Regions from separate parts of the Homo sapiens genome. Here regions 1, 3, 4, 5 and 6 are each linked to region 2. Evidence: promoter capture Hi-C in 16 types of primary human blood cells and fetal thymus (Javierre and others, 2016). All regions are on one chromosome and are shown on one strand. The core of a region is centred on a gene start or on the middle of the fragment in contact, and the rest is flanking DNA. Distances in the headings are between cores, read along the strand shown.

Evidence for each region. Contacts are between HindIII fragments. The CHiCAGO score rates a contact against its expected background, and 5 or more counts as called.
Region 1: a fragment that was not itself captured here is called in contact with the fragment with the promoter of NAPEPLD in region 2 in 2 of 17 cell types (M2 macrophages and M1 macrophages); the score reaches 5.4 in M2 macrophages.
Region 3: a fragment that was not itself captured here is called in contact with the fragment with the promoter of NAPEPLD in region 2 in 2 of 17 cell types (M2 macrophages and M0 macrophages); the score reaches 6.3 in M2 macrophages.
Region 4: a contact is called between a fragment that was not itself captured here and the fragment with the promoter of NAPEPLD in region 2, in 1 of 17 cell types (fetal thymus). The highest score is 11.1, in fetal thymus.
Region 5: a contact is called between a fragment that was not itself captured here and the fragment with the promoter of NAPEPLD in region 2, in 1 of 17 cell types (monocytes). The highest score is 5.2, in monocytes.
Region 6: a contact is called between a fragment that was not itself captured here and the fragment with the promoter of NAPEPLD in region 2, in 1 of 17 cell types (neutrophils). The highest score is 6.4, in neutrophils.

The regions. Positions count from the first base shown.
Region 1 is chr7:103,410,830-103,414,999 of GRCh38, forward strand. It overlaps SLC26A5 (solute carrier family 26 member 5), which reads right to left. Exons shown (of 20, transcript NM_198999.3): 5 at 2,173-2,283; 6 at 591-757. Among named protein-coding and RNA genes, the nearest start is that of SLC26A5-AS1, 32 kb to the right of the region's middle. The HindIII fragment of the contact is 694 bases long and covers 2,164-2,857 here.
Region 2 is chr7:103,147,813-103,151,636 of GRCh38, forward strand. It overlaps NAPEPLD (N-acyl phosphatidylethanolamine phospholipase D), which reads right to left and starts at 1,287. Exons shown (of 5, transcript NM_001122838.3): 1 at 999-1,287. LOC105375434 reads left to right here. Exons shown (of 3, transcript XM_047421168.1): 2 at 1,206-2,752. The coding sequence ends at 2,008. The HindIII fragment of the contact is 3,849 bases long and covers 1-2,433 here.
Region 3 is chr7:102,808,836-102,812,813 of GRCh38, forward strand. FBXL13 (F-box and leucine rich repeat protein 13) reads right to left here. Exons shown (of 21, transcript NM_001394494.2): 21 at 2,354-3,978. FAM185A (family with sequence similarity 185 member A) reads left to right here. Exons shown (of 8, transcript NM_001145268.2): 8 at 1-390. Among named protein-coding and RNA genes, the nearest start is that of FAM185A, 62 kb to the left of the region's middle. The HindIII fragment of the contact is 3,439 bases long and covers 1-3,432 here.
Region 4 is chr7:102,747,961-102,751,770 of GRCh38, forward strand. FAM185A (family with sequence similarity 185 member A) reads left to right here and starts at 1,039. Exons shown (of 8, transcript NM_001145268.2): 1 at 1,039-1,698; 2 at 3,732-3,810. The coding sequence starts at 1,248. It also overlaps the pseudogene RASA4DP. RefSeq lists silencers at 729-818, 859-1,028 and an enhancer at 762-1,056. The HindIII fragment of the contact is 1,652 bases long and covers 568-2,219 here.
Region 5 is chr7:102,830,086-102,834,495 of GRCh38, forward strand. FBXL13 (F-box and leucine rich repeat protein 13) reads right to left here. Exons shown (of 21, transcript NM_001394494.2): 19 at 2,755-2,889. It also overlaps a transcript of FAM185A not described here. Among named protein-coding and RNA genes, the nearest start is that of LRRC17, 81 kb to the right of the region's middle. The HindIII fragment of the contact is 655 bases long and covers 926-1,580 here.
Region 6 is chr7:102,876,071-102,879,955 of GRCh38, forward strand. It overlaps FBXL13 (F-box and leucine rich repeat protein 13), which reads right to left. Exons shown (of 21, transcript NM_001394494.2): 16 at 2,261-2,380; 17 at 1,397-1,523. Among named protein-coding and RNA genes, the nearest start is that of LRRC17, 35 kb to the right of the region's middle. RefSeq lists an enhancer at 1-685. The HindIII fragment of the contact is 5,125 bases long and covers 1-3,885 here.

The DNA.
Region 1 (4,170 bases), core at 1,261-3,760, 260 kb after region 2:
TATGTTGCCCAGGGTGGTCTCGAACTCCTGACCTTGTGATTCGCCTGCCTCAGCCTCCCAAAGTGCTGGGATTAAAGGTGTGAGCCACCGCGCCCAGCCTCTGGACCATTTTCTAACACTGCAAACTTGTACCTCAAGTGGGTAAGTAGCTAGAAAATCAACCACTGGTTATACAGAAAACAATGGAAGGTCTGGAGTGGCTTGGTGCCCCACAGTGCGCTGACCACACTAATGCCTTCCCTGTCTCTCATTGAGCTGGGGGCATGCTTCATCATGTAGACTAAAGTGCATGATCATGATCACTGGCTGTTTCTTCCAAGCAGAGAGGAATGTCCTCTCCCAGCACTAACCAATCCTGCCGTGTCAAACTTGTCTTGCTTTTGGGATCTTTAAAACACCCACCTGAAGCTTGCTTGCTCGTCACTCATAGTTGTGAATATGGCATGCAGTTGGTCTGCAGTTACTCCCAGAGCTCTGGGGTTTTTCTGGCTGACCCCATCCACCGTGTAGTAAGACCAGCCAAGAGCACTCAGTAGATACTTGTTAGGTTAACAAACGAGACAGTCCATTTCCCCATCTTTGAGCCTTACCTGAATGATTCCTGAAAGTAAGGTCACAGACATGGCGACTTTCACTCTCAAGGCATCTCTGGCCTCTGTGCCATTGGTTGCATTTACTCCTCCTGGAATGACTATATCATCTGGTACTAATCGAACAGCTACACCACCAATCATCAGGCTAATAACAGCAAAAGGACCTGAAATAATGAAGCATGAAGATCCCTGTTCAGGGTTCAGAGTATCTGATATGGTTTTTGCCAGTACACCAAGAGACAAAGGTGAGGTCAAGAAATCATGCTTGAAGGAAGGCTACGCTCCCTTCTTTAGTGTCCTGCCCCTGGTGTATGAGCAACCGTGTGTGTGCGTGTGTGCGCATGCAGACTGTATTTTCCAAAAATAGACATAGCAATATCTTCCATCCACAGAGTCTTCTTGACATTTCCCCATCAAGAGGTGGAGTCTAATTTCTCTCTCCTTGAATCTGGCTTGGCTTTGACTTGTTAGTAATCAAAAGAATGCAGCAGAAGTGACGTTGTGTGACTTCTCAGGCTAGGTAATAAAAGGGCTGCAGTTTCCACCTTCTGCTGAAGCCCTAAGTCACCATGTGTAAGAAAGCTCCAACTAGGCCAAGTGGAGAATTCCTGGGACTGCATGGAGAAAGGAAGGCAGGGAAGAGGGAAGGGAGGGAGGAAAAAGGGAGAGAGGAAGAATTACCCAGACCAGCCCTTCCCAAGTCCTGAACTGCAGGCACTATGGAAGATACAAACATGATTGTTGTTGTAAAGCTGCTACATTTTGGGGGTATTTGTTACCAAACAGTAGATATCTGGAAAGTATGTGTGTGTTAGGTAGTAGCCTTATGCAGCACCAGAACTATTATGAAATCCATATGCCCCTGATAAACTGAAAATATGTACAATTCAGAGCCCAAAATATGACAAAAATGAAATACATGCATAGCGATTAGGAACTTGAAGTACTACCATTAGTATAAAAATAAAAACCAGAAGCTGGCAAATTACATTATGAAATCAAGCATTTATCTCATTTCACAGATTTCAACAATTGCCCTTTTACACAAGAAAATTGTCTTTTTTATTATCCCAAGATTATAAGAAAATTGTAAGTTCTAGAAATCTTGGGAGGAGTGTAGTTTTTTTTTTGTTTTTTTTTTTTTTGAGACAGAGTCTCGTTCTGTTGCCCAGGTTGGAGTGCAGTGGTGTGATCTCAGCTCACTGCAATCTCTGCCTCCCAGGTTGAAGCGATTCTCCTGCCTCAGCCTCCTGAGTAGCTGGGATTACAGTCACCCCTCACCAAGCCTGGCAAATTTTTGTATTTTTACAAAGAGATGGGGTTTCACTATGTTGGTCTGGCTGGTCTCGAACTACTGACCTCAGACGATCTGCCCGCCTCGGCCTCCCAGAGTGCTGGGATTACAGGGATGAGCCACCGCACCTGGCCGAGTGTAGGTTTTTAAAGCACCTATTGTGTATGCAGTAACAAAAGTTGTTATTAAGACAATTTTTAATAATGACCATGCTATTTCTTTGGCACATTGCAAGGTTGGAAATACACAAGGAAAGGTAATAGAATATCAAATGTAAGCTTTTACCTATGGATATGTGTCTGGAGGTTCCAAGAAAACAATACATGATAACAGGGTAAAATGAAGAGTACAGGCCAAATATTGGAGGCACAGCTGCCAGCATTGCAAAGGCTAAGCCTGTGGGATTAAAAACCAAACAGAAATGGGGGATCATTAGAAGACAGAGGTGTTACATGTGTTTTTCTCTTGGTTCTTTATTTCTGATGAACGAGTGAAGCCCATCTTAATTTAAGCTGCAACCTGCCCTACCCCAGTCCTGCACATCATCTTACCTTGGTGCTGATAGAGTCCAAGCTGAGAAACTTTGCATTGTCATCTCCTTTTTGCCAGTGGGTGATTTTTTTTTCTGCTTTATTCTTTCACAAATTAGATAAAAGCAGAAAAAAGTCTTATCTTAGTGGTTGTCATTGTAATTTGGTGTTGACTCACAAATGCGAGCTCGTTCTCCAATGGGGTGTTTTTGTGGGTTCTCTGGAGACCCCTTTGCAATAAGGGACTCTCAGTTACTATGCCCTAACCTATGTAATGCTCCCTCCTCCTGACTCTTAGATATCCCTCCTCCGACTCTTATCAGAAGGTACAGCCTTCCACGTTCTTTTGGCTGGTGTATGCTCATCCTGTAGGCAGTCTTCTTAGGCAGGTACCTATCAAATGGGCCAAGTCTCATTACCTTCCAGTTACTCAATGGGAAAGCTTGACATTTTACTCCCAAGAAACTTTGGAAGTGCAGGTCACACCCTCTAGGGGACTCTTTCCCTCACTCTGCGGTCCTAGGCAGTTCACATCATCCTTTAGACATTTTTTTTTAAATAGAATTTTTAGAGCAGTTTAGGTTCACAGCAAATTGAGCAAAAGATACAGAGGTTTTCCATACATTCCCTGCCCTTATGTATGCACAGCCTCCCCCACTATCAACATCCCCCACTATCAACATCCCCCACCAGAGTGGCACATCTGTTACAAGTGATGAACCTACATTGACCTATCACTATCACCCAAAGTCCATAGTTTACATGAGGTTTACTCTTGGTGTGGTACAGTCTATGCAAATGTACAATGACAGGTAGCCATCATGATAGTGTGATATAAAGTAGTTTCACTGCTCAGAAATTCTCTGTGCTCTATTCATACTTCCCTCCCCCCATCCCCTGGACACTAATGATATTTTTACTGTCTTTGAAGTTTTGCCCCCCCCTTTTTTTTTTTTTAAGACAGGGTCTTGCTCTGTCACCCAGGCTGGAGTACAGGGGCATGTTCATGGCTCAATGCAGCCACAACCTCCCGGGCTCAAGCAATCCTCCCACCTCAGCCTCCCTAGTAGTTGGGACTACAGGTGTGTACCATCACACCTGGCTAATTTTTGTAGAGACAGAGTTTCCCCATGTTTCCCAGGCTGGTCTTGAACTCCTAGGCTCAGGCGATCTGCCCACCTCAGCCTCCCAAAGTGCTGGGATTACAGGCATAAGTCACTGTGCCTGGCCAGTTTGGCCTTTTTTAGAATGTCATTCAGTTGGGATCATACAGTATTAAGCTACACCAGGCTGACTTCTTTCACTAAGTAATAAGCATTTAAGGTTCCTTCATGTCTTTTCATGGCTTGATAGCTCATTCCTTTTTAATATTGAATATTTCATTGTTTGGATGTACCACAGTTTATCCATTCATCTACTGAAGGCCATCTTGATTGCTTCCAAGGTTTGGCAATTATGAATAAAGCTGCTATAAACATCCATGTGCAGGTTCACTTGAAAGTTTTTTAAAAACTAGTTTTTAGAGCAGCTGGACTTTTTCATGCAAGAATTAGGCAGCAGTCTTCACAAACTCCAGGGGGTACTGTTCAGCACGCTGAGCAGCTTTCTTGTAGTCCTTTCTTACTTGACTACAGGTGGAGGGGAAATGGATAGGGTTTTAACCTCTCCCTGGAAAATTCTCATTCCAAATCAGTCTCCTCGTTCCCTCATATATTCTGTTAAAGTGACACACTCAAGAGGGCCTGGGTCATTC
Region 2 (3,824 bases), core at 37-2,536:
GACTTACCATAATTCTTGTAGCAGGAAAGCCTGCAGAATGTTAACAAAACAAAATCTCTGAAAATCCTGACTATATTTTCAGTTGACTTGAAACAAATTTAACCCCTCAATCTCTCCTTAAATTATTATTTTAAATAAGTACTTTTACCCTAAATTTCTTCTTTAACAGACCCAGTATTTTCTTGCAACAAAAATCACACTATTGTGGGATATAGGTAATCTTCTTTTTAAAGATTACATAACTTCTTTCTAAACGATGTCCATGTCTGCGGCTAATTCATAACCAATGTAACTGAAAATAGAAATGGAAATGTTAGAGATTTCCATTTTTTAACAAACATGGGAATTATTTCTCAATTTGAAGAACTGCATCTCAGGAATGACTTCCTGGACAAATTAATCAGAATTATCAAGTAGCAAACATTTCATGCTAAGCCAAAGCCAACCAGGTGAGTCAGTCATATTATAACATGTATATATAACAACGTACAGTAAAGGCAAAGACAAGAACTAAATGACTTTTTAAAAGGCTGTTAAACTTTACTCACTCCCTTAATATTTTCCAGGTTTAACTGACGTATAATGAATGCATGTGATCCCGGAACCCATGGAAGAGTATCTACCATATCGAGCTCTAGCTTGAAAAAAAAAAAAAAGGAAAAAACAAACAAACAAAACAACAACAACAAAAACCTATCTGAATACGTGTTCTGAAAAGCCCACAATAATACCCAATTTATAAGAAGCAAACAACCACAGAACAGAAAACTCAAGAAAGCACAGCCTTCCACCACCCCTCCCCAGCTAGCCCCATTTTTTTTTTTGCTCTTCATTTCCATTCCATAGTTAAATAAGTACACTTATTCCAAAATAAAAGGGGAGAAACCTGTTGGAATGGATTTTTAGAAGATAAACACTATAGATGAAGCAACAATAAGTTGCTCGGAGGAAGTTGTCGACCCATTCATTTACATACAACCAAAAGAAGATAAACCCACATGTATTCCTATCAGTGAAGATGCAACCTGGTAATTTGCAGGGAAGATAGGATCTCAAATCCCAGACAGCTACTCTCCCAAAGAGAAAAAAAATAATGCTGTGGCTCTTCACCGAGGCAGCTTCAGAGATGCAGGCTCCGCAACTCGCGAGGTGCGAAAATTCAAATGAAGCCCTGTCGCTCACAAGTGCGGCATCTCCGAGATGAGGGAGGGCTCGGGGACGGGAAACCCACTCTCAGCCCGCTCCACTTCGCCGAAGAATTCCAAACCACCCCAGGCTCAGCAGTGTGGATTGCTCCGCCCAGAGACCGTGGAGGAGGCAGCAGAGAGGTCACAGAGCACAGCAGGCGGGAGAAAACCGCCTCCCGCGAGGTCCAACAGAAACCACGGAGCTCCGGACACTCGGGATCCCGGGCCGCGGGCGCGCGGCCAGAGCGGCGGGGTGCGAGCGCGGGGGTGCGGACTCACCTCGCGCTTGGGGTGGCCGGGAGCGCGCGCCGCCTCAGTTCCGCGGCTTCCGGCCACAGAGTCCCCGCGCAAAGCGCCGCCGCGTAGCGGGAGGGGCGACCGCGGCAGGCGCTCGGGTTCTTCCTAACCCGAGCCCGCCGCGCTGGCTCCGCCGAGGACGCCAGCAGCTGCAGGCAGCGCTTCAGCTCTCGCCGCCTCGCCATCGTTGGGGCGAGTCGTCGCCGGGTCACTCCCTTATTATGACCTTCGAATCTGACAGCAGGGCCAGCGGTGGCCTCCTTCAGGCTGCCTCTCCAGCCCTTACCAAGATGGCCGCCCCTGTGGGCCGGGGCGCCGAAGCCATCTTGGTAAAGGAAGCGCCTGGGAGCACGCGGCCTGCCCCGGCCCGCCTCGCGACTCAAACACTCTGCAGGGACCCTCCTAAGATCAAATTGGTTCCCCCCGCTGTCCTAAGCCAGAGGCTTACTTTCAGATCGCATGAACGCATTCCTGGACACCAGCCACAGTTGCTAAAACTAAATGGGATCCTGCAGACCCATTGACGGACTGTCATAGCCAACTCAATCACAGTCGAGAAGCATTTGAATACTTACAGCCTATGGCGCTAGGATCCTGGTAGCGAAGAAACTAAACTCTAATTTGAAATGTTGTACAGTACGTATTGAATATTAATGGGAGCACGGCATTGTTCACTGTGTGATCGTTTACTTTTAAAATGATGTCACAGCCCCCTGGTACACACGGTTCTCATCTAAATTTGCATCTTTTTTAACGCTAGGATAACTATGAAAGAGCATACGATTGTGATTCTGAGTTTCTTACTGGATTTGCTTTTTAAACTGCAGAATGAAATTAGTTGTTTCAAGAAGTAAAGTACAGGCATGTCGAAGTAAAATTCAACAATGGGTTGTTGGGCAAAAAGATTATAAAAGTCCTGGGGTGTGCCAGGGTCAAAAAAAAAAAAAAAAGCTTGTCCCTGGGGTTATCTTGGCAAAAAAGAAACCACCACCACAGGTTCTAAATGCAGATAAGACTGGCAGAAAAATGCAGACCAAACTATTCTGCATTTTGAAAGTGAATGTGCCTGTGTGACATTGGAGGAATGTAAAGAACTGTATGTCAAGTGTGGACTTTATCTCCTCAGGCTAGCTTAGAGTGGCTGCTGAACTTAAGGGTGATTAAGAGCTGCTTGCACCTGGGTGGAGCTGAAACTGCATAAGGTGAATAATACCTTTGTGCAACAGAAGAAAAAAAAAAAAGTAACAGCATACATACAAACCCAAAGGGTAAGTTGAAGTTACTACTCAAAAGTTCTTCATAGTGTTCTTGACTAAGCAACGGAGAAGTAATCCCGGCACTTTGGGAGGGCAAGGCAGGAGAATCCTTAGAGCCCAGGAGTTGGAGACCAACTTGGGCAACATAGCGAGACTTCATCTCTACAAATAATAATTAAAAAAAAAAAAAAGTAGCCAGCCTTGATGGCCCGCCCTTGTGGTCCCAGCTACTCCAGAGGCTGAGGTGGGAGGATCGATTGAGCCTGGGAGATCAAGGCCGCAGTGAGCTGTGATCACGCCACTACACTCCAGCCTGGGCAACAGAGAAGACCCCATTTCCCCAAAAAAAAAAAAAAAGCTGGGCGCAGTGGCTCACGCCTGTAATTCCAGCACTTTGGGAGGCCAAGGCAGGAGGATCACCTGAGGTCAGGAGTTCGAGACCAGCCTGGCCAACATGGCGAAACCCTGTCTCAAGTAAAAATACAAAAACTAGCTAGGCATAGTGGAGCTCACCTGTAATCCCAGCTACTAGGGAGGCTGAGGCAGTAGAACTGCTTGAACCCCAGAGATGGAGGTTGCAGTGAGCAAAGATGGCACCACTGCACTCCAGCCTGGTAGACAGAGCAAGACTCTGTCTCAAAAAAAAAAAAAAAAAAAAGATGCCCTTTGTTCCCCTCACTCCCACTCTTTTTTTTTAAGTCCTTGTCCTTTATTGGTTAAGGCTGAGGGAAGCAGACAGACCAGTTGGACATAGTAGATGGGTGTGTGAGGTCAAAGTGCTACCTGAAAGCCAGCCAACCCACACTCCCCTAAGATGAATGCTAATGCCCTTCAAACTGTGGGCATTGGTTTCACACACAGCCTCTTCCAGGGATAAAAGAAGGGGTTCTTGTAAAGCCTCTTCTTTTTTCTTTTTTTTTTGAGACGGAGTCTCGTTCTGTCACCCAGGCTGAAGTGCAGTGGCCAGATCTTGGCTCGCTGCAACCTCTGCCTCCCAGATTCTCCTGCCTCAGCCTCCTGAGTAGCTGGGACTACAGGTGCCCACCACCATGCCCGGCTAATTTTTGTCTTTTTAGTGGACATG
Region 3 (3,978 bases), core at 463-2,962, 340 kb before region 2:
AGAGGCCACCCACATGCCTTCTCATGTTGCCCCTCCATCTTCAAGCCAGCAGTGATGCGCTGAGTTCTTCTCATGCTTTGAATATCTGACTTCTTCTGCAGCCAGCTGGAAGAATATATACTTTTAAAGGGCTCACTTGATTAGGTCAGGCCCACCCAGGATAACCTTTGTTTTGCCATATAATGTAACATTCATAGGAGTGATGGCCCATCACATTCAGTTTTCACTCCCACTCAAGGAAAGGAGATTATACAAAGGCATCCATCATGTGGGGACAATTAGCTTAGAATTCTTTATAATGTAGCTCTCACATGACAGGTTTTCTACTTAGTACCTTTTATGGCATCAATGTAAATTTAAGCTGTAAATAAAAAACAAATATGTGAAGCAGTTGCTACTGATTCTTAATATCTTTTGTGTAACTTAAGATATAGCTAATTAGGAAAAAAGAAACAGCTATTTTATAGCCTGATGTATGAAGATAGATTTTTATAAAGGTATACTGTATAAAGATATTTTATGAATTCCATTTCTTTCAAACATCTCTATTCCTGGAACATTTAAATTATATAATACTGGCCAGGCACAGTGGCTCATGACTGTAATCCCAGCAGTTTGGAGGCCAAGGTGGATGGATCACTTGAGGTCAGGAGTTTGAGACCAGCCTGGCTAACATGGTAAAACCCCATCTCTACAAGAAATACAAAAAAAAGAAAATTAGCTGGGTATGGTGGCTCATCCCTGTAATCCCAGCTATTTGGGAGCCTGAGGCAGGAGAATCGCTTGAACCTGGGAGGCAGAGGTTGCAGTAAGCCGAGATCACACCACTTTACTCCAGCCTGGACAACAGAGTGAAACTCCGTCTCAAAAAAATTAATTAAAATAAACAAATAAGTTATATAATACTATAACTATACTATAAGACCAGACCTATCTCTTGGTGATGTAGTTTGGATATCTGTCCCCCAAAATCTCATGATGAAATGTAATCCCCAGTGTTGGAGGTGGGGCCTGATTGGATCATGTGGGCAGATTTCTCATTAATTGTTACCACCACCTTCTTGGTTCTGTCCTCATGATAGTGAGTTCTTGCAAGATCTGACTGTTTAAAAGTGTGGGTATCTTCCCCGTCTCTCTCTTGCTCCTGCTCTTGCCATGTGATGTGCCTGCTCCCACTTTGCCTTCTGCCATGAGTAAAAGCTCCCTAAGGCCTCCCCAGAAGCCAAGCAGAGAGGCCCGTGCGATGCTTTCACAGCCTGCAGAACCAATTAAACCTCGTGAGTCAATTAAACCTCTTTTCTTTAGAAATCACCCAGCTTCAGGTATTCCTTTATAGCAAAACAAGAATGGCCTAAATCGCTTGGATTATATTTTTTATGATTAAGATAAGTCAGTTCTTTTTTTGTTTGTTTTTTGAGACAGGGTCTTGCTCTGCCACTCAGGCTGGAGTGCAGTGGCACAATCTTGGCTCACCGCAACCTCTGCCTCCGAGGTTCAAGCGATTCCCATGCCTCAGCCACCACAGTAGCTAGCATTACAGGTGCACGCCACCATGCCCAGCTAAGTTTTGTATTTTTACTAGAGATGGGTTTCACCATGTTGGCCAGGCTGGTCTTGAACTCCTGGCCTCATGTGATCTGCCTGCCTCAGCCTCCCAAAGTGCTGGGATTACAGGTGTGAGCCACTGCACCGGGCCAGGAGAAGTCCATTCTTAAACACTAATTTTTAATAAACCTTTCCAAATATTATTATTTATGATGATCTTTTTCTTTTTTTCAGACGAGGTCTCACTCTGTTGCCCAGGCTGGAGTGCAGTGGCATGATCATAGCTCATTGAAGCCTTAAACTCCTGGCCTCAGGCATCCTCCTGCCTCAGCCTCCTGAGTTGCTGGGATTACAGGCAGGTGCCACCATGCTCTAATTTTTAAATTTTTTATAGAGATGGGTTTTACTATGTTCATCAGGTCTCGAACTCCTGGCCTCCAGTTGTCCTTCTGCCTTGGCCTCCCAAAGTGCTGTGATTATAGGCATGAACCACTGTGCCCAGCCTCCTTTTCATTAATTTTCCATTTCTTTAGAGTTCTGTTTTTAACTTCTTATTTATGAAACAAAAGTCAGCTTTGTAGGATATCTCAGAGTCTCCTTTTAGTTCACCCTTCATGAAATCAGAATGTATACAAGTCTGAAAGATACTCACACATTGGTATATTTGGTATGGTTGTGGTGTGTTATACTATTAAGTAGAGGAAACTGTGTAGCAGTGAGGCAGTTTTGATAATCTTTTTTCACCCTCATGCAATTACATAAACATTTTCATGACTAAAAATAAATTAGCTAACCACAGCCAGAAAAGTCATAAGCATAACAGCAGTCAACTATATTTAAAGCTACTAATGGAATTGTACATATTTGGATCACATTGTTAAGTCCCAGACAAAAAGAAAAAGCTGCCATAATTTACTCTCTTGGACACAGACCTATGAATATGAAATACGTAAGGGCTAAAGACCTAACTAATATCTTTGATATTTTGAGTAGTTTGCATCGAAAACTTAAAAGATTTCTCTACCTGTATCCCTATTCTTGGTCTCCTTTCATAGCTCACTTTTTCTACTCCTTTTCTTCATTTATGTAGCTGTAAAATTTGTCTCCCCAGAATGAATGAATGTGTCTTCTGTTCTTGTTTAAGAAAGGATGTTACTCAAAGAGCTTTGGAGCAAGCTCTGAATGTAAAGCAACCTGCTAGGTTTCTGGAGAACATAACAGGGTGTGTTTCTTACCGGGGTCTAACCAGTGCAGGTGTCATTCCTTTAGAAAGCAATTGCCTCTTTTATAAGTTCCACCAGTTGTGTGCATGAAGCACTTAGGGATCAGATTTTTGAAAACATCTTTAATGCAGCTGCCAGAAATTTCCAAATTTAGGTTAAAATCATACTCTTATGTCATCTTATGTCTCTTGGCTATGGTCTAAAACTTCCCACTCAAATGATTCTGTTGCCTGTGTGCCCACTCCTAGGAACCTTTCCACAGCTAAGTAATATTACCTTATTTCAAAAACTTTGCAAGTCAACCTCAGTGGGGGAGAATTACTAAAAGCATTTAGCTAATACAAGGTAGCCTATAATAATACTTTGTACAATCTTTTTAAAACTTTTCAAAATAACGATGCTTTATCTTAAGTTTTTAATCCTTATTTGAAACTTGTGGGATACAAAAAGAGAATTAACTCCACGTGAGAGATAAGTAATTGAGGAAATAGAAAGGTTAAAAGGCTGATCTGATATTGCTGACAAGGCTTGTTTGCGGCAGTCAGAACAGAGTTGTGTTTTCTCTTGGACTGTGTCAACATCAGTGTTACATAATATCAAATAATGGTAAAAACCCACAGATGTGCTCACTTCGGCAGCACATATACTAAAACCTACGGATTAAAGCTTATTAAAAACTAATATGTAGATATGCAATTAATAACCCATACTTCCTAGCATAAAATTGAGGGAGCATCTTTTTTGGCATAGCATAGTTTAAGAATTCCTCCGTTGTGCAAATTTGATTAAAGAGATGTCTTTCTGAGACATTGCAGGGACATTCTTTCTATTCAGATAGTTCTTGTTTCTATTTAATTTGCCCCTGACTAAGTCAAATGTTGAGATAAGTACAGAGTTAATTGGCGGCATTTAGTTCTCTTTTGTTGTTAAATGTCTGGAAACCACAGAAAAGCCACATTTCCTTTGAAAATATTAATATATGTCTGTATTCTTTATAAAGCCTTAAAAAGCGTTACAGATCCTTAAAGTTATTCCCCTGGCTCAAACTCTTAGTTTGACATATGGCCATCTCTGCTTTCTTTTTCCTTTCTAAAGAAAAATTTCTTAATTTCTTGTCAAAAAAGTCTCATCTCTCAGGGTTGTTTCATATAACTGTAGATTTTATAATCTCATCAAAACTATTGGTTTGATTAAATTTAGGCAGAAATTT
Region 4 (3,810 bases), core at 144-2,643, 400 kb before region 2:
ATTTTAAAACTAAAGAAACAGGTCTAGGTGACACAGATGAAGCAGTGGCAGAGCCAGGAAAATAACCTGACCCTTGTCCCTGCTCTTTCCACCGCACCATGGTGACTCTCTTTTTTGTGTCTTTTTTTTTTTTTTCACTCTAAAACTGAGGATCATTTGTAGTCAAAGAGATCAATGCTATTCTCAAAACAAGTTCTGATCTCTCATAATTTTCTTGGTAACTCAGAATCAATGTTAAGTACGTTGAAATAAAAATACAGTTCTTTACACGGTAATTTTGTAGACTGTGCACCACGGTCCCATCCATTTTCTTACTTGATCCTTACAAAAACCCTTTGAGGCAAGGCAAGGAAGGTATTATTATCTACATTTTTAAAGTGAGCAAATTAAAACCCAAAGTAAGGTCACTTAGGGTCAGGACGGAGCAAGTACTCTATTCCTATATTTGGAATATAGGAGGGAATACACTTCCAAAGAGGCAATTCCCTCAAAAAGCACCAATCTTGCTCTTTACTTTCTTACCAAGGCATTCTCCATGCCCTGGAGATGCCCTCACTAAGTTAGTGAAGCTTGGATGTTGACATCCACAGAGGTTACTCCTAGTTTGCACCTAGTTGTCATCTTAAAAAGCGCAGTTTCTTACCCCTTCCCTTGGTCCTGATCCTTATTTAGGCTCCTATTTTTCTCTTTGGGATTTGGCGTCCTGGGTCTCACTCCAAAGCTCCACCCTCTCCAACCAAGAAGTCGCGTGCTTGGTATCCAAGGTGACCACGCAGCTTTACCCGCGTTGCCCCTTCCGTGCTTCCCATTGGCCAGTGGACTCCCATGTACCGCCCCTCCAATAGCCAATGGTCTTGAGACAAAGGGCGCCCGCCTTTCCAGCGATTCTAACACCTACCCTCTTACCCGTGCTCCCCTGCGCATTGCCTCCTGGGAAATGTGGTTTCTAAGAGGCAGAGCTCTGCGACTTAGAACTACCTATCCCGTCGGCCTTAGCGAAAGGGGGTGGACTTAGGCAAGGGGTCCAGGTCAGAGTTTAGAGCTTTCAAATCCCAACTTGCCCCTGGGGATTGCGCGGCTGATGTTTAGAACGCCTAGTCAAGCCAACCGGCTCGCTCTTGTTTCAGCAAACCCTGACTTACGTCTCCTATTTGACTTGAGGCGGCACAGTGGCCAAGTCGATTGGCCGTGGCAAGTGACCCTCCCTGTGGCTGAAGTGTTCTGAGGACTGGCGAGAGAGGCGCGCCATGCTTGCCCCCTGCTCAGGTTGGGAGCTTGGCTGCTTCCGTCTCTGTCTCCGTCAGGTCCGACTGTGGGCTGGCGCTGGGCGCTGGGCTTGCTGGGCTTGCCAAGCCAGGCCGTACAGCTCAGGTGGGAGCGAGCGCTGGCCCGGATCGGAGACTGAGGTCCCTCCGCCTGGCCCGGGGCGCCGAACTCTGAAGGAGTGGACACTGCAGGTGAGCCCGTTTGGTCGGCTGCGGGCGCGGCTCCCGTGCCACCTGGCCGTGAGGCCCCTGGACCCCCTCACCTACCCGGATGGCGACCGCGTGCTGGTCGCGGTGTGCGGCGTGGAGGGCGGCGTGCGGGGCCTGGACGGCCTGCAGGTGAAGTACGACGAGGATCTGGAGGAGATGGCCATTGTGTCTGATACTATCCACCCCCAGGCGTCCGTGGAGGTGAACGCGCCCCTGAAGTTTGGCAAGTGAAGTGAAGTGAAAACGGGTTTGGGTCCCAGGGAACGCACAGTGAACTTAATAAATGTGGTCGACGTGCACTTTTAATTGGTCCTGGCTCTCTAAACCTAATTTACAGTTGGCCCCTTCGGAAATGCACCTTTTCCTCTGTTCTGTTCTTGAGTGTCCGAGTAGTATTTAAAAATTAGGTTCCCAATTATAGAAATTTTATACATCGAATGGAAACATGATTTGGTATAATCCAGGTCAAATTCTATTTCTGGAGCCGCTTGTGTTCTCCTTTATCCCGTTGTCATTAGCAAACTGGCTTATTTTTCAAGGTTGAAGTTTCTTGACAATTCATTCAATGGTATGGCAGTCCATCTACATTTCATCTTGCTCACAGCCTGGGGGTCTGTCCCAAAACAGCCCTGTCAATAGGATGTTCCGGGTATCACCTGGTTTGAGTATTTGGTTTTAGACGGGCGCCCAGCTTCTTACTGTTATATTTCCATTCTTTTTGGCCTAAGTTTTCCATGAGTAGCAAGCTTTGAAGAAAAACACATGGTAAGCCTGCCTAGGAAGCTTCAATAATAATGCCTGCAAGATACCTTTCTTAGCTTTTCCTAAATGGCAAGCCACTGTGTACACACACTTTTCTAGGAAGGGCTCCCCAGACTGTCATTCTTCCTGGGACTGATGGAAGATATTGATGATGATGATGATAGTAATAATAATAGCATTTAGCATTTTTAAGATCATCTTTTATAATGCTTAGAGTTGCCCAAATAGTAGATGCCGTAGTCCTCCCTTATCCACCGTTTGGCTGTCTCAGTTTGTTACCTGCCTCAGCTGTTGTAGGAAAATATTAAGATATTTTGACAGATCACAGTAATATAACTTTTATTACAGTATATTGTTATAATTGCTGTATTTGTTATTATTGTTCATCTCTTACTATGCCTAGTTTATAAATTAAACTTGATCATTGATATGTATACAGGAAAAAACATAGAATATATAGGATTTGGTACTATTTGTGGTTTCAGGAATCAAGTGGGGGGGCGGGTCTTGCCTACTTTAAGAGAAATCATCAATATTTATGTTAATTCCAAATTAAATATCAGCGTTTTTAATTTTTAAAATTTGTATACAGAGATGCCTGCAGTTACATCTTAAATAGACAGCCAAGGATGGCATTTGTAATTCCTTATTTTCCAAACTTGCTTCATATACCACTGCCATTTGTCCACAATCTTGTGGGGTTTTTTGTTTGTTTGTTTTGGTTTTTTTTGAGACTGCATCTCACTCACTCTGCCACGCAGGCTGGAGTACAGGTGCACAATCATGGCCCACTGCAGTCTTGACTTCACGGTTTTAAGCAATCTTCTCGCCTCCACCTCCTGAGTAGCTGGGACTACAGGTGCATGCTACCATGCCCGGCTAATGTTTTTGTTTTTTTGTAGAAATGGAGTTTTGCTACATTGTCCAGGCTGGTCTTGAACTCCTGGGCTTCAAGCAATCCTCCTTCCTCGGCCTCCCAAAGTGCTGGTATTACAGGCATGAGCCACTGCTCATGGCCTAATCTTGTAGTTTTAATAGTATATATTAGCTTTTTCAAAGTTGTTCCCATTTTTAAAAAATTACTTCAAATACCTGTGATATAGTTGCATGGTAATATTTTCATTTTTTAAGTATGAAAGGTTAGACATAGGATTTGAAAACCTAAGTCATGATCATATATACTGGGGAAGAGGCTTCTACAGTCTTTCACAGGAGTACTTAACAGAATCGTAGTCTCCTTTACTTCCCATCTATGTTAGTTCTCTTTAGGTGATTTAGGCCAGTAGAAATAACTGCTCTGTTTCTAAAAACGGGCAGAAAGGCTATTGTTTTTGGTCCCGTTGCTGTGGTAGAAGACCCCTTACCTTTACAGTATGCACTTTCCAGGATTCAGCAATATTACGGACATAACTGAGGAGTTGGGTTTCTAGGTTAAAATGCTTTGGAGCTTATAAACTGCAGTACTAACTTGCTTTTTTCTTTTTTTACTTCTAGGTTTAGATATCAAGTCATCAGGGTCTGGCTGTGTAAAAGTTCAAAGTATTGAGGGTGATAATTGCAAAATTGAAACAGA
Region 5 (4,410 bases), core at 3-2,502, 320 kb before region 2:
CAGAGTGATGCATTTCTTGCATATTTGTTTAACATCCCCCTTAGCTTCTGGGCTGCAAGACAATAGCCATGCACAGTTTACAGAAGGAATTCCCTCAGCCTTCATAACAAAAAACAAAAAACCAAAGCAAACAAACAAACAAACAAAATCCTCTGCCCTATTTTCTGTTTGCACTGGAGCCTTTTCTTTTCTCATTCTCCTACTTTCTGCTTTAGAGCCACTAAGAAACCCAGTCTCCATCTGTGCCTGCTTTATAGCCAGGGCAGTTCTCACTTCTCACTAAGCCATGTGTTGCCCATATGTCTGTGTGCTATGAACGCAAGAATCTCTGTGAACTATCACTGTTTAAGTTGCAGAGAGTCAGTTGGTCAGCGCTTCTAGTGTTCTGGGTCCCTTGACCCAGCTCACTAATAGAACCAGATGATGCTGACCAGAAAGACATCTGGTTCCCCTAGTTCTAAACAAGTATATTATTAAACAAAAATAATTTTGCTGTGAACTTTTTGGCTTAGTTTTGTCACGGTTTACCACATCTTTTTCCCTGCTGCCTCCTCCTTTTTATTGCAGCACAATTAGCTAACCATACAAACCAAACAACATAGAAGCTGAACTTCTAGATTAAATAAAGCGTAGGGCATCTTGAGAGTTGGTGTGATGCTGTAGTAAACAAAAGCCTTCAGTGTGTACAATAGAAGAGAACACGATTGTTAATAACCTTGTAATTTCTGAGGATTTTCAAAAAAATTTCTTAGTTTTCTTCCTTCTTCATATTTTGCTAACTCCAAGTTTTTCCTGTTAATTTGTGTTGATCAATATCTTCCACTTTAGAGACTTTCCTCTTATGTCTGGTAATCCTTTTGTTCACGATTAAGAGTGGAGGACTAAAAACTAATCGGAAGGTCAGAGTACACGCATCTCTATTGTAAGCTTCAATGAAGGATGATCTACGTGTGTTATTTGTTGGGAACCACCCCTGTCAGTCATTTTAGGTCTTTCATCTTGGGCTAGTCAGGGTTCCCAGAGAAGAGGCTACCAATCTCCCACCTGGAGAAGAAGATCTGGCAGCCAAGTTCTTGATGCTCAGTTGGAAAAAGTGCTTGAATATCTCTGCACTCAGCATTGAGTCACTTAGTTAGCCTAGCAACCCTCTGTTTTAGTATCTCTAGAGTAGTGGGTAATTCAAGAACAATTTTGGCCCTCACCTCCACCAGAGAACATGTGGTAAGGTCTGGAGGGATGGGATCTTATGTGCTACTGACATATAGTGAGTAGAGGGCAGGCATGCTGTTAAACATCTACAGTGCCCGGGACACACACACACACACACACACACACACACACACACACCCCACTACAGAGAGTTATCTTGTCCAAAATATGAATAGTGTCAGGGATGAAGAACCAGAATTTAGGAAATAAATCTCCAGGCTTCTGTTTGGGGTGGGGAGAGACAGTTGCCCAGATTTATGGAGTAGGGGCTGGAATCTAGAGATCTATCTACTTCTTAAGAATCTCTAACTCAGTCTCCCTTATTTTCATCCCCACTCTTAACCCAGTTCCAAAGGTACACGGTGCTCCCAAGCTTGAAGATTGTGGTGTAAATCAGATTTTTTTTTCCAGCTTTCTCTACTGTTGGCTTAGGATTCAAAGCAGTCTCTGGTCTGCTAAATTAGTCCATCTATTTTCAAGCTTCCAAATTTTTGTTGCTCTTATCTCCTCTCCTGTTTTCCTTATCCATATGGGCCCTCACTCTTCATCTCTAGTTCTGGTAGCGTTTCAAGAGGAACAAAATTATATGTGTATATTCAGTCTACTATTATTAATCCAGAACCTGAGATCTCTAGTTCTTTACATGGAGATATGTCCATAGTATATTAAAAAGTAGGTTACAATGTATTTTGGAAAGTATGATTCTATTATTTTAAAAAACAAGGCAAAACACAAACTTTCTGTAACTATTTCTAATCTTTTTGTGCATAGAAAAAAATCTAGAAGAATAAAATACCAGCGATGGTTATGTCCAGGTGGTGACAGGACAATGGATATTTACTTTCTCCCTTAAGCTTTTATATGTAGTCCAAATTTTTCATAATGAGTACTTACTTCATTTATATACAGAGGTCCCAGAAAAATTATAAAACACTTGAAAATAACACAAAAGATGATGGTATGTCCTTGGAGTGTCAAACTGGAACACTGTTTAACAGGCCTACCTGGAGAATTCTATAGGAAATCATGCCTTTGTTTGACATACCATTTACTGTCCACTAAGGCCCTAGCTCAATGAAGTTATATGTTGTTATATTTTTGTCCAGGAAAGATGCAAATTATTTGTATCTGGTATAAACTGTAACCCCAAGGTTATGGATTTAATAACTTGTAAAACACTTTTAGATCTAACCTAACACTCTTAATGCAACATTCTTTCATCAGTTCCTACAAATACTAAGTTCATTCAAATGCTCTACGCACTGGCTTTGTCATTTTGTTGGTTCTCTCATTAGTGAATTAAAGAAATCTTTGACACATGTTTATATTTGTATGAGAATTATGTTTTTAACTTTTGGAAAATTCTACTTTGACACCAGTGGAATCATAAGCTATTTCCAATTTGAGGATAGAAGAAAAAAATCCAATGAATACCTCAACCATGGCAAAGAGAACATATTCTGAGTCCAGCCCTGATCGCTGTCCTGCCTTGTCCCTTGGCAGTGCTTAAATTGGATGTGTTTGAGCCCTGACTCCTGCACATACCTTTGGACAGCCAGCAATGCTGAGAGATGTGAGGTTAATGCAGTAAATGGCCAGTGCTTTGATAATCATATCTGACAGCTGGGAGCAATAAGAGACATCCAAATGTTCCAAGATCAGTGAGCTTTTGCAGAATGCCTGCAAAAAATTCCAAGGTCAAATTTTTTCTTTTCTTTAGTCATCTAGAACTGTCTTACTTATAGTAGCTTATTAAATGTACATTTCAGTCCCTGAAATACAGATGTTAGATCTTGATGCCCCCAAAAAATAATTTAAAAAACCCATGTTACATCCAACATCTGTTTATAGCAAAAGATATTCACAAAGCAGCTTAACAGCTTAGTGATATTCAAATGCCTGCTAACAAAATTTGGTTTTCTTGAAGTTAGGTCTAATGAAGTTTGACTCATATGGTCAGTAATGAGTAGAAGAAAAGAAATCTGAGGGTAAGATTATATGGCAGACACTCCAAGATTGACAGTGGAATGTAATGGAAAGAACAGATTCTTTGGAATCAGACAGACCCGAGTTTTGCTTTCGTTTCCACCATTTATTACCTCTTAAATCTTAGCAAGTTACTATCTTTCTGAGCCTGTTTCCTTTTTTTTTTTTTTTTTGAGAGTCTTCCTCTGTTGCCCAGGCTTGGAGTGCAATGGTGCAATCTGAGCTCACTGCAACCTCTGTCTGCCAGGTTCAAGTGATCTTGTGCCTCTTGTGCCTATTGGGACTACAGGCGTGCACCACCACGCCCGGCTAATTCTTTTTTTTTTTTTTTAGTAGAGATGGGGTTTCTCTAGGTTGCCCAGGCTGGTCTTGAACTCCTGACCTCAAGTGATCCACCCTCCCAAAGTGCTGGGATTATAGGCATGAGCCACTGTGCCCAGCTCCTCTTTTTTAACTTAGGGAAAATAACATCTACTCTCTAGCATTGTTTTGAAATGCTGAAATGTTCACCTGAAATATCTAGGACTAGAAAAAGGCCTGGAAATCATTCCCTTTATATCAATACTTCTTAATTTTCATTCCTACTTTTCAGTTAAAAAATAACTCAGTGATAAGAATCCATGAGGAAATAACACTTAAAAGTTTACAACTCAGCAGTTATACAAGAACAAAACAATCCACAAAAGTAAACCTAACCGTAATTGTAAAAATATATTTAAAAAGCAATAGGAGTAGAAATTGGAAACCATGATGAAGGAAGGAAGGAAGGAAGGAAGGAAGGAAGGAAGGAAGGAAGGAAGGAAAGAAAAGAAAGAAAGAAAGAAAGAAAGAAAGAAAGAAAGAAAGAAAGAAAGAAAGAAAAGAGAAGACAAGAGAAAAGAAAAAGGAGGAAATTTCCTCCCCCAAAATGTGAGAATTATTATAATTATCTACATGTGCTCAATCATTCTAAGAATTCTGCCTCATTATGAAGCAGCTCCTCTTAGAATACAAAGTTAGAGACCTCAGTAAATGGTAGTTTACCATTAATTTTAGTTGTAAGTACTAGATTTTAGTAACCCTAATGGGTTACTAAAGATACTTCTTATTTATATATAAATTATATATATATATATTATATGCGATTATATATATATTATATATATGTGTGATTATATATATTATATATATGTGATTATATATATATATATATATGTGATGTGGCTCTTAGCACAA
Region 6 (3,885 bases), core at 435-2,934, 270 kb before region 2:
AAACACATTCATGATGTGGGAGCAAGAAAATGTCTCCAGCAGGTGTCTAGGACTGTGGACCTAAGACAGCCTCACAGGATCTCCATGACCCAGGAAGACCCAGAGGAGCCCAGAGCAAGGCAGACACGACAGGGAAACCTGAAGACTTGAAGGGGCCTTGGAGTTGGAACAAGGAAGAGACATCAGGGATCCACCTGGACGGGAAACTAAACACCAAATGGGCCCTCGTACATCTCAGTGAATTCCAGCTTGGACAGAAGACAACATTGAGAAGACCAGACACTGACCCTGCCATAATGAGTTGACTCCATGGTACTGCTTCCTACCCACAATCTCACATCACTCATGGACGATATGGAAGGGAAGAGGAGGTCATCTAGCAGAAAGGAGGCTGAATCCAAGTTCATTCATAGATAAAGAAAGGAAAGAACCTAGACCAATGAACAGATCTAGTCCTTCATTTAAAAGACCCCACCGAATGTTGACGAAGGATAAACACATAACAGATGTCTGCAATGCAGTGAGAAATAGAAACGGTTCATGTTAAAGGATACACTGGGGCTGGAGATGCAAGCAGAGAAATTCCAGTGCTTGCCTGCAAGGTAGGGCTTCTCAGAGAAGGCCCTCATAGACAGTTGATATTTCAGGGATGAATAGGGATTTAGCAAGCAGATGGAGGAGGGATCCTTACCTCCCTATATCTTCCTATATCCCTCCTATATAGGAAGGATATAGGATATAAGATATTGTCTTCCTATATCCCTCCAAATGCATGATTTTCAAGAGAAGTCCATATATTCCTTGTATAACTATAGCCCATAGTTCTTTCAGAAACATGGCAAATCTCTCAGGGTTATCCTCCTTTTGATTAGTAAATGGGGCAGTCCCAGAGGGATAAGATGGATGTGGCCTGAGTCTCAACCCTGATGAATACAATCAGCAGCTTGCAGGAAATGAATTCCATATCCTTTTGTAGATTTGTTGAGGCCATTTCTAGAGTTTAGTCTTGAACTAAAGACTTAGATCTCAAGGCATTCGGGTAGTCTCATAAAATGTGCAATCCGTAAGAAAAATATAGTTAAGCCATCTAACATATATTATCTCCATACTGACCAAACTTCTGTAATGAAACAAATCTCAAATTATCATGACATACTCTTATCTGTCATGACTTTCCCCAAAATACTGTATTTTGCTATTTTTTAAACAGAGAAACATGACTGTTGATTCAAAGAAACTTTTCTATCACCCTTCTAGAAACAATATCCCTAAACTTAACTTTTATAATAGAATAACAAATAAAACATATTATTGTTCTCTCCATTATTTACAAAATAGCAAATAATTGTATTATAGAAAACAATAAAAGTCATTGTACTGTTTTGAATTTTTTTACCTCATTAGAGATGTCTGTTCCAGAGAGATCTATTGATACCAAGGAAAAGATGTTTACAATATATCCAATTCCTTGGGCAGTCAAATGTTCACAATTTCGTAAACTCAAGTAGTTTAAATTAGGGCAGCTAAAAGAAAGTAGCATGGATTAATTTTAGCTGTCAATCATATTGTCAGTAAGCAATTTCTTCATATAAAAACTATCTTGGGAAAACAAATGGTATTGAAGCAAAGATTTTCCTTTACTCAACATAAAAGTAAGACTAAAAGTAGAAAGTAATTTGACATTACAAAGTTGCATGAAAGGGCAGTAGATTATTATATGACTTTCTTTCTGTAATTTAGTTTCGTATTACAATTTCTAATAAGGAAAAAATATGTCACATATCAAAAACTATCATGTAAGTACCATAGTGAATGACCACTAAAAGTGCAAGTTAAGAACCCTACTTATCCCTTACAAGTTTGCTACAGGAATTGTACAAGACCTCTGACAAGAGGGGAGTCAAGAATAAACCAGCCAGAACACCCCTTGGGAAATGCTGGAGTAAAGATAATCTCCTGGAAAAGGGAGATTAGAGAAAATCTCCTTGAAAAAGTACAGGGAAGCCACCCATATCTAGATATTCATCATTTCAGGAACGACTCCCTCAGATGTAATTTAAATATAATAATATAATTTAAAAATTGGTCCAATCTATGACTTCAATGTCTTTCACATGGTTTCACTGAACATTTAACCAGCTTCTGGGCATCTCTGATGTTCCCCCAAATGTCATGAAATCTTTGCTTTTAGGTGTCTCATGTCTCCTATTATCAAATATACAATACTAATGATATGATGTAAAAGACTGTTTTATCATACCGCTCAGATAGTTTCATAACAGAGGCATCACTTAGCCGCACACAGTTGCTTAAATTTAGCTCTCTTATCCTCATGCTTGCAGGACCATCAAGAAATTGCTTTAGTCCCATATCACCAATTCTGTAGGAAAGAGAGAAAAATTTTACATGTGATTCTATATATAAACATATAGAATAGTATTAAAGTAATAGCTACCATACCCAATATATTTCTAAAATAGCAAGGTAATATCTATATACTGGTATTTTGTCAATATTTTAAAACCAAATTTGATTATATAGATTTTAATGTAATAAAATGTATAAATGAGAGGAATGGGAGAAGTATTAATTAAAATGTTATTTCTGTTCCTTTGTTCATAATTTTTAATAAGACAGATGGCCCTCAAGGTCTTTTTCTCTTGGGTTAAAAAGTGATCAAGTTAAGTAGTCCCTGATACCATTTCCTGCAAAAGAAAAAGATCAAAACTTAGGAGAGTGAGAACCAAGACTAAGAGTCAAACTACTGCCATGATTTTGGAGGAATTTTCACTAAATACAAGGTCAATTTGCTGGATAGGAAACCCAATATGAGCCCTTTGGCTTCTTTCCTTCTGAATCAGAGAAAACCTGATGCTGGAAGAAGACCTTGACCTCAGCCTTCCCAAACTATCCTAATCAGAAACTTCTTCTGTGTGTCAGTGCCATAACCCTACCATGTTGATCTTGCTTTATAAATGGCTGGATGTCTGTTTGGCCCATCAGTTCCCTGTCTTCCATTGGGATCTTCATTTCTAATTCCAATTGAGAACCACCAGATCCTTCTAAGAAGCATTTCAGCAAATAAAGCAGGACAGGAGTTTCCACCATTGCAATCCTAAGAGGCAGTTTCACAACAGCTCTACAGGTGGGCGTACAGATGGGAAGAACACTGGGAGCAAAACATACTGATTGCTGACATCCGTTTACACCCTCCGTTTGTTCAGATTTGCAAAGAACTGAGCAGTTAAGGCAAAAGATATCCTGTTTCAGCTGAATGAGCCATAGTAGGTGGATGCGATGCCTGTGTGCCCATCAACCTTCCACCTATAAGAGGGGGAGTGTGCCAGCACCTAGGAAAGCAGTTAAGGATGTGTGTGTGTGTGTGTGTGTGTGTGTGTGTGTAGAAATTCATATTATAGTCAAGAAAGGATTAAAAGTGAATGGAAAAGATTATTGAGGTAATGATCCAAATTAATTGGTTAATACATTTAGGGCCAAACCTGGATATCAAAAGTATCCATGCTGTTTTTTTGTTTGTTTGTTTGTTTTTTAATACACAAGCTGGGGTTTCATCCCTAAAGATTCAGACTCAATAGCTCTGAAGTGGGGCTTGGGCATCTATAGTTTTTTTTGTATGTTTGTTTGTTTGTTTTTGAGACCAAGTCTCTCTCTGTCGCCCAGGCTGGAGTGCAGTGGCACGATCTCAGCTCACTACAAGCTCTGCCTCCTGGGTTCACACCATTCTCCTGCCTCAGCCTCCCGAGTAGCTAGGACTACAGGCGACTGCCACCATGCCTGGCTAATTCTGTGTATTTTTAGTAGAGACGGGGTTTCACCATGTTAGCCAGGATGGTCTCGATCTCCTGACCTCGTGATCCGCCCACC